Linked DNA regions of Homo sapiens: regions 2 and 3 are each linked to region 1. The links are contacts of gene promoters, found by promoter capture Hi-C in blood cells and fetal thymus (Javierre and others, 2016). All regions are on one chromosome and are shown on one strand. Each heading gives the region's core, a stretch centred on a gene start or on the middle of the fragment in contact. The rest is flanking DNA. Distances are from core to core; before and after follow the strand shown. Region 1 holds the start of ENGASE (endo-beta-N-acetylglucosaminidase). Region 2 overlaps RBFOX3 (RNA binding fox-1 homolog 3). Region 3 overlaps RBFOX3 (RNA binding fox-1 homolog 3).

Region 1 (2,935 bases), core at 138-2,637:
GAGATTCCCTAAATCTACCAACGCCCAAGGCCACTTCTTTGTTCACTGAGTTGTCATCTGCCATCACTCCACTGCCATTCAGAGGCCTGTTGCAAAGAGTCCTCTGTAGCATCTGCCATCACCAAACACTGACCCAGGGCCTCCAGAATGACATTGGGAGACCCTGAGAACTGCAGGGGTCGGGGACGGATTCAAGCAGAGATGCCGCAGTTGTTCCTCTCCACCTTCCTTTTCCAAAGCCCCCTTCCTCGTTGATGTCCTTATTATACTTCAGCCACCCCCTCCCAGACCTTCTCAGAACAATCCCACACCAGGTCACCTTTGTCACCTGTCATTCCTCCACTAGGAGGGAAAGAGCCATCTCCACATTCCTCCTGTCCAAAAATATCTTTCCCAGCAGCCAGCCTTCATCCCATCTTCATGAGGTCTGAAATGCTCAGCAGTCTCACTGCTTTGGGTTTAGAAACAAAGCTACGGCTGCTGTTTCCGGAAGCCATGTCTGTGCTCCTAACTTCTCCCCCTGCAACCTACTGAGGGGGAGTTTACCGGGTGGGCAAGTGCCCCCCAAAGGAAGGAAGCCCAGCCCAGAGGGGCATGTTCGTCCCTTTCTGTCTCTGTGCTTTGGCCCTTTCTGTTCCCCGCCAGTTGGATACCCTACTCCCTATTCTCCACCTACTGAAGGCTTCCTCCTCCCCAAAGACTCAGTTCTAGTGTCACCCCTACAGAAGGCCACCCCTTCCACCAGCCGGCATCCACTGAGCCAGGCATGAGCACCGCCGCCGGGATCTTCCGCATAGACCAGCGACGTGGGAAGCAGGGGTCTGGCCGGGGCGTCGGGATTCCCGCTGGGCCCCGCGGCCACTCGGGTTTGCACCCGTATTTCTGAGATAGGCAGGGGTCACGCACGGGGGCCGGAGGCCGCTGCCCGGCAGTGGCGCGAGGACGGCGGGGCGGACCGGGGCGGAGGGGCGCTGCCACCCTCTGTCCCTTACTGTGCACGGAGCGGACACAGGCGCCGGCCCCCCGCCCCTCGGCGCGCCCGTGCCGGGAAACCTCGGGCCCCGGGGCCACGGACTCTCAGCCCCGCGGATCGGGGTTCACGCGGGCCCCGCAGCCCCACCTCCTTCCCGGCCGCCGCCGCCGCGGCCGCGGCTCCTGATCCTCCTGCTCCTCCTGCGTCCCCGCCTCCGGGGCCGCCAGCCCCTGCAGCTGCCGCCGCCGCCGCCGTGTAGCCGACCGGGTGACCGTCACCGCCGCGGCCTCCATGACACTGTCCGCGCACGCCGAGAGGCAATCGCAGGCCCGGGCCCGCCCCCGCGCCGCGCTCGGCCAATGGGAAGTGCGCAGCGCTGACGCCGCGCTGGGACGGGACTCCGAGCTGACTCCCGGCCAGCGGCCGCGCGGCGGGGACTTTGTTGAGGCGACAGGCCGGGGGCGGGGCCGAGGACGGGGCGGGGCTGTGAGGGGCGGGGCCTGGGCGAGTTCCGAGCCCAGGGTTCGTCGTCGTTCTTGTTGTTGCCCATCATTGGCTATGAGTCCAGGGTGCTAGAAGGCTCTAGAAGGCTTCGGAACGCCCCAATCTTAGAGTTCTCTCTTTAGCCTCACCAGCTTCCTTTGTCAAGCAAACCGAGGTTTATCCCAGAGAGATTAAGCAATCTCCCAGAGGGCACAAAGTCAGCAAATGGTGGCAATGAGATTTTAACTCATGCAGCTAACCCCTATTAAAAGATAATTTTCAGACCGGGCGCGGTGACTCACGTCTGCGATTCCAGCACTTTGGGAGGCCGAGGCGGGCGGATCACCTGAAGTCAGGAGTTCGAGACTACCCTGGCCAACATGGTGAAACCCCGTCTCTACTTAAAATACAAAAATTAGCCGGGCGTGGTGGTGCATGCCTGTAATCCCAGCTACCTGAGAGGCTGAGACTGGAGAATCGCTGGAACCCGGGAGGCAGAGGCTGCAATGAGCCGAGACGGTGCCATTGCACTCCAGCCTGGGCGACAGAGGGAGACTCCGTCTCAAAAAAAAAAAAAAAAAGATGAAAGGTTAGTAGGTTAGTATCGGGCCATGTGGAAGCTGGTGTCCTATGTAGGATGCATAGTTTTCCAGTGAAACACGGATTTCTTTCTACAGCCCCACGCCTGTGCCCAACAGTAGTAGTTGCTCTACCCCTAAGCGTGCAGGGCCTGGAGTGGCACCTCTGCAAGAGTGGCACTGCCCAGCGTCTTAGGCACAAAAGGAGTTCACAGGAAACATGATAGAACAGAGCCCTGAGAAGCCAGAACTCAAGGCTGGGCCCCACAGGGCAAACCAAGGCTCTCCTCCCTCCAGGCCCCAACGCCCCTCCACAGCTAGGAGCTTCCAGTGCTGGGCTGCAGCTGCCGCCCAAGCCAAGTTGACTGGGCCTTTATTATTGTTGCAGACTTTGAACTTTATGAGGCTCCAAGCTTCCATAAACGCCAATGGTGGGAACTATGACTAAGGTTGTTGAATATGGGCCATGGTGCAGGCCAGCCAGTTAGGCAGGAAGGACGGGCCACTCAGAAGCAGGACACGCTGACCCATGGGGAGGACAGAGAAGGCAGAGGGCTCCTCTTTGGGGCTTCAGTCCTGGGAAGCTTACAGTGAGCGAGGGCAGTGGATCCCCAAGTTCCCTCCTGCTGTGTTCAGGGGTGCACCGGACGTGGACAGTCTTGATCTGGGGTGCATGTAACCAGGTGTTCCCAAGCCCTCACCTGCAGCTTAGCAATAAAAATAGATAAACTTTCATCCTACCCAGGTTAGAACACAGTTCTAAGGGATACTTTGAACAGCCTTTGGGTAATGCTCAGTCTCTGGGAGAAAATATGCCCAAACCTCCCTTTTCTTCTCTCCTTTCCAAAGAGTAGGCACCTGGTCTAGAAGAGCAAGAAAGTGAAGGCAGCCTTGCACGCCC
Region 2 (2,935 bases), core at 325-2,824, 340 kb before region 1:
GTGACCAGCTTACTTCACTCAGCGTCATGTCCCCAGGGTTCTCCCATGTTGTGTGTGTCAGAATTTCCTCCCATTGTAAGGCTGGTCATATTCCCTCTATGCATGGAGCATGTTCTGTTTCTCCATTCGTCCATCCGTGGACACTGGGCTGCCGCCCCGTGTGGCTATTGAGAGTGATGCTGCCGTGAACACGAAGTGCACTTCTCAGTTGGAGTTGCGGCTCTCAGTTCTCTTGGGGCTGTACCCAGGAGCAGGGTTGCTGACCATATGGCAATTCCATCTGATTGTTTAAGGAACCGCCAAACCTTCCTTTTCCGCAGCAGCGGCGCCATCTTCCATTCCCACCAGCAATGCATGAGGGTTGCAACTTCCCCACACCCTCGCCAATGCCTTGTTATTTTCTGTGCTTTTGATAGCAGCCATCCTTATGGGTGTCGGGCAGCCCATTGGCTTGTAGTCAGGACTCTTCCCTGCCTGGTTGGGCATGTTCCTCTGAGAAAGAAAGGCCGTGGGGAACAGCTACTTTTCAACATCCAGGGACAAGCCAGGCCGCTGGTGCTCTCTGGAAGGGATTGTGACAGGGCCAGGGGTGTCCTCTCTGATGTCCTCAAGAACTGCAGAGCCAGGCCCCTTCTTTCCTGAGAGCTTCAGCTGAGGCACCCCTGAGCAGGAGTGAGTATTCTGCCTCTGACCAGGGGTTTTGGGAGAGGCTGAGGGGCTGAGAGACTCTTACGGGGAGCAAGGAGAAGCTTCTCTGCCTCTGTTATCTTCTCTCCTCTCCCCCAGGCTGTGCAGATGACATAGGCACAGTCACAGCCACTTCTCCCCTTTCCTGCCATCCTGGCAGAACACCTGGCTGCCCCTTCCACCCTGCCAGGAGAGATGTGCCCCTTATGCAGAGCTGGGGAGAGCGGCAGGGACAGGGTGGGGCCGCCTTTCCACTCCCTGCCATGCGAACCCTGCTGCAAACCATGCCAAGGGGCCTGGGGCTTACCAGGCAACTGTGGTATTCCTCGGATGCGGGTAAGGAACATGGGTCCTGCCCAACCTGCCAGCCAGGTGCAGCCAGCAGGAGGGAGAGCCGCATCCCCAAAACAGCACATCCCCTGGGCCCACAGTTTGCCCTGCAGACTTTCATGGCAAGGGGGCTGCTCTATTTGTGTTGCTTTAGATTCTAAAGGTCACAAAACAGCCAGCTGCGCTTGTCAGTACCAAGGGGTCAGCAATCGAGGCAGATAGATCCAAGGGGCTGCTGAAGCCTGAGTGGCAGCCCCATCCCAACCTGGAGGGGTGGGTGCGGGGGAGGGCCGGCCTCCACTTCTCCTGCAGCTTCTCTCCCCACAGGAGGCTACTGGGATTGGCCCCAGGGTTCACCTGCTGGCCCCCGTGGGAGAGCAAGTGTCTTCGCTCTCTCTGGTCACGCCATCGCAGGGGCCACACCAGAAGTGCTGGGCCACGTCGCTGTCTTGGATCCTGGAACCATTGGGCGTCCTTGATGGATAGTGGGGGCTGACAGTGAGAATGGGGACTGTGGTGCTATCCTTGCCCTATACTATGCCTAGCAGGAGAGCTGGCGGGTCTGCTAGGGAGGAGGCTTTGGGCTTGGCGGTGGGCAGAGCAGGAAGGGCTGGTTTGGCAGGGGCCATGGCCAAAGCACCTCAGACCAGAAGAGGGAGGGAGCTCTGGGTGCAGTAACTGCTCCCAGGTCCACTCCTTGACCGAGGGTTGCAGGTGATTCCAGCTGCTCCCGGGGAGGATTCCAGCTGTCCTTTGGCCCTCCCAGGTGAGCTGAGACCTGTCCGTGCAGGTGGCAGCCCTTGGCCTTGTGGGGGCACCTGTGGGCAGCCCTGCCCTGCCTGGGGGTGCTGGAAGGACTCCGTTGCACCACATGGACCCTGGAGTGCAGGCGAGAGGAAGAGGCGGCGGCAGAAGGAGGCAGCGCAGGCATGGCCTTTTCCAGCCTCCTCCTGGAATTCTGGGGCCCATGTCAGTGGAGAGGGGAGCAGAGACTCTCAGAGTCTGGGGGCGTCTGCAGGTGAGGAGGTGGGAGGGGCCTGCTCCAGTGTGTGGGCTCCCCTGGGGTCTGCGGCATGCTCAGAGACCCCTGCAGTCCCTCTCCCTTCCTCCACAGCCCCAGCACATGCAGGCTGCCATTTGCAGAGACCCCTCCTTATGACCCACACAGACTCTGCCTCCCCCAGGGCCCAGATGAAAGAAGAGTTTCACCTAAACGTCAGGCAGGGAGCCGACTCCGCCCCAGCCCCTCCCTCCGAGGACCTGCTCCCTGTGTGCCCATCGTAACTGAGCCGCATGCAATTGTGTGACTGTCCTGCCACTTGGCCATCTAGCTGCCCGCCCTGGTGGCCCCAGGAGCCGGCAGAGTGGCTTTGGAAAGCTTGGGGCTGCCTGCATGCACACACCACCAGAGGAGGGAGTTTCTCTCTCCTCCATCTGCGTCTGCCGTGCTGAAATACAAGAGCCGAGATGTCCAGGGCTTCCAAGTTTCCTTAGCTCTTCCACAGCCGCTAGGGTCGGCCTCAGGGGTGCACAGTGCCCCCTTCTCCCTGGGTGGGGGAGGGGAGGTACTCTGACCCCCAGGATCAAAAAATGGACCTTGGAGTATTTAGCCCCACACTTCATGTGGGGATCACTCAGGGTCCAGCCATGGGCAGCCTCCTAAAGGTGAGAGTCTGTGTGCCAGGGACTGGCTCTTTGGAACTCATCTGGGCTTAAACGAATACAAAGATTCTACCAGGTATTGCTGGGCCTCGGCCCAGGTACCTCGGCAAAGGCGGTCCTCGTAGGTGGCACCGGGCAGATTGCACCCCCAAGTGGTCTCAGAAGTCACTTGAACTCCCCAGACTCAGAACCCCGTGATGAAATTGCAGCCTGGTGGCCCTGGGATTGGTGTGAGTCTTTGTCCGCATGTGGACCG
Region 3 (2,935 bases), core at 261-2,760, 290 kb before region 1:
GGGAATCTATCTGGAAGATTTTCTGACGTCCAAGTGCTGTCAGTGACTTCTTTCCTCTTGGCTCTGTGAGCGTTGGCTCCTGGTGAGAGAGGTGCTCTGGTGATGATGGGGTTGGCACCAAGACCTGGTCACCACAGAGCAGGGAGCATCAGGAAGGGCTGGAAGCCAGCGAGGCCCCAGGTGTGAACTCCCTTGCTGGCCAAGAGCCTTCTCTTTGGTGGGATCCCAAACTCCATCTAACGAAGGGCGTCTGGTGGGGCTTAGAGGAGAAATGTGCACCTGCAGCCCAGTGCTCACCCTCAGCCAAGGCCACTCTGCACCGACGTAGCTGGAATTCTCTCTCCGTGGGAGCTTCTTTGAGAGGGAAAGAGGGGACAGGAGGGACAAGGCCAGGGGATAGACACTCAGATGTTTGACCAAATCTCCATCCATCAGGGCGGGCAGATGATCTTTCCCGAGGCTGCAGAGAGAGCCTGAGCTGGGGTGGCACCAGGAGCTGCAGGACCTGAAAGGCCCTCTAGGGAGAGGGGAGGCAACAGCAGTGAAGAATCACCTGGAGACACACGTGGGCTCCCAAGGCCATTGCGGGCAGAACTGACCAAGATGGTGGTGGCAGGGGAGCGGCTTTCAACGCTAACCAGAGCAACACCAACCATGCCCCAGAACACACACCCAGAGTTTGGGGTGGCAGGAAGGGAAAGGCCTGGGAGGAGGCGCCTTGTGTATGCCTGGTGTTCGAGGGGATCCCCAGACAAGCCCTGTCTTGCTAAGGCCATTTGAGTTCTGGGGGTGAAAACAGCAAACCCTCCGAAACGCGTGTCCTTTGCCCCCAGCAGTCACGGCAAGGGTCACGGTCAGGGTCCAGGGCAACCCCTCTGGTGAGCCCCCATCAGCCCCTCCCCGGGGAGTGGGGGCAGACTGTGGTAGAAACTCCGGTGCCTTTGGGTACAGATGTGGAGGTGGCGCCGTGCCTGGGGAGGTGGGAAGATGGTGTTGGCACCCGGTGCCACAGGTCAACCCCGGCTGATGGGCAGCCCCTCCCCACCCAGAGTTGCCCGTTGCTCGTGTGCTTGGAGAGTGGCACAGTGCCACCGGATGCCCACCAGCTGCACTGGGCGCAGTGAGACAGCTCAGAGCAGATGCCCCCAGGCTGTCCAGGGGTGGCAGAGCTGGTGTGGTTGGAGCCCCTCCTCGCTCTCCTTGTGTGGTGGGCCGTGGGCTGGATAGCAGGCGGCGGTGAGCGAGTGACTGGGATCTGCCTTTTCCTGCCTTCGTGAAGCCCATGGCTGCATCCTGTCATGGGCCCTGTGTGGGCCATCTCCTGCCATCAAAAAATAGTGAAAAGTAGATTTTGCCACAGTGTGGATACAAAGACAAAAGCATCGTTGGCCCTTAAAGTTCATTTTATCTTCTCATTTTAAAAGAAATCATGACATTTCCATGGCCCTAATGGTGTCAGCCCTGGCTGAGGATCAACCTCCCGGACACCCGTGTGTCTGGCTGGAGGGAGGCTGAGCGTGGGGCCTCGGACCAGCATCGGGCTGGTGTGCGAGGACCTCTGGGTTGGTTGCTGCTTGGAATCTGGTCAGCTCTTCCAGCACCTTCTCGGATGGTAACAATCCAGGGAGTGGTGTCTTTCATGGCAACATGAGGTCACCCACCCACGGGCTTCTCAATTGTCCTGCAGAGGAACTGAGACCAAGGCAGCAGGTGCGGGGAACCGGTGGAACCCACGACTGACTCCCAAGTGTGGCATTTTTGTCCATCTGCAAATGCGGGCGTCCTAGGTTTGGAAATGAACACAGTTCAAATAGCATTGTGAAGCCACATTGGGAAACCCAGATGCAGGACAGCACGCAGGATCCTGGCTTCCTGGTCCCCCACCTGGATGGTGTGGCCTGGCTACAGCCCCAGGCTGGTGGAGGGGGAGGTCTCTCCTCAGCTGCTGCTCCTACTGGACCCCTCATCTTTGCAGCTCCCTTTGCTTTAGATAAGGCTCAGCCCTTCTGCAGAATGACGTGGGCACGGCTGTGGAGAGGGGAAAAGTTGTTCTGTAAGAGAACCCATCCCGTGGGATCCCGTGGAAGGAAAGACAGGGCCAATGCGTAATAAAGGATGGTGTGGACAGGAACTTCTGTCCCCACGCCTCTTAATCTCATTAGCAGGAAATGAAAGCAAATCCCATTGGGACTAACCTTGCCATGTGCTGAGAATCTCCTGTAAGAATTTCAGGTGTCCCTGACCCTCGGTTGTTGTTTGTCTTTGGCTGAAGTTAATTCCCCAGCCCTGAATGCACACAGAGTCATGCCGGGATGTCCCAGACATTCGGAGGCAGGAGAAACCCATTCATAGTGAACGATTGTCGGTGGATTGTCCACAGTGTCTGCCTTCAGGTGAGCAGCCTTCCTGGGGGGCCAGGCGGGCTCTGATTCCTCCTCTGTCACATACCTTGGCTGCCACAGAGACCCCCCAAAAGAGCTGCCTGTCCGGCCCACCATGACACCCACTGGCCGTGGCTCCCTTTGCCTGTCCTCCCCGGAGGGGTGGATGGTAGTGCCATTTTCTCCTCTGCTGCATCCCGTAGTAGGTGGCTGGGGAAATATTTTCAAGTTACTGGCTGGGAGTAAATCTGACTTTTGCAATCTAAACCTTAAAACCAGGGAAAGCGGACTCTTCTTACTGTGTGTCTTCTCTTGTCTCGGTCTCTCCTGACACCTGTAGCCCAGAGCTCATGAGTGCTCATCGCTAACTGCTGGGTGATACATGCATGAATCTGGCCAATGTGATTTGCGTTTTGAAGAAGGATCAAGCAGTGGGAGAAGGTCGGGGGACTTGAGGTGGAGGAGGACTGGAGGGGAGGATGTGGAGGAGGAGTAGGAGGAGGAGGGGGAGGAAGAGGAAATGAAGAAGAGGAGGGGAAGGGGGAAGAGGAGAG

Evidence for each region. Contacts are between HindIII fragments. The CHiCAGO score rates a contact against its expected background, and 5 or more counts as called.
Region 2: a fragment that was not itself captured here is called in contact with the fragment with the promoter of ENGASE in region 1 in 1 of 17 cell types (naive B cells); the score reaches 6.5 in naive B cells.
Region 3: a fragment that was not itself captured here is called in contact with the fragment with the promoter of ENGASE in region 1 in 2 of 17 cell types (total B cells and naive B cells); the score reaches 6.9 in total B cells.

Annotation. Positions count from the first base shown.
Region 1 is chr17:79,073,276-79,076,210 of GRCh38, reverse strand. It overlaps ENGASE (endo-beta-N-acetylglucosaminidase), which reads right to left and starts at 1,387. Exons shown (of 14, transcript NM_001042573.3): 1 at 1,121-1,387. The coding sequence starts at 1,266. RefSeq lists a silencer at 986-1,525. The HindIII fragment of the contact is 10,832 bases long and covers 1-2,449 here.
Region 2 is chr17:79,415,030-79,417,964 of GRCh38, reverse strand. All of the region lies in intron 2 of RBFOX3 (RNA binding fox-1 homolog 3), which reads left to right. Among named protein-coding and RNA genes, the nearest start is that of RBFOX3, 190 kb to the left of the region's middle. The HindIII fragment of the contact is 1,646 bases long and covers 752-2,397 here.
Region 3 is chr17:79,367,298-79,370,232 of GRCh38, reverse strand. All of the region lies in intron 2 of RBFOX3 (RNA binding fox-1 homolog 3), which reads left to right. Among named protein-coding and RNA genes, the nearest start is that of RBFOX3, 240 kb to the left of the region's middle. The HindIII fragment of the contact is 5,229 bases long and covers 1-2,935 here.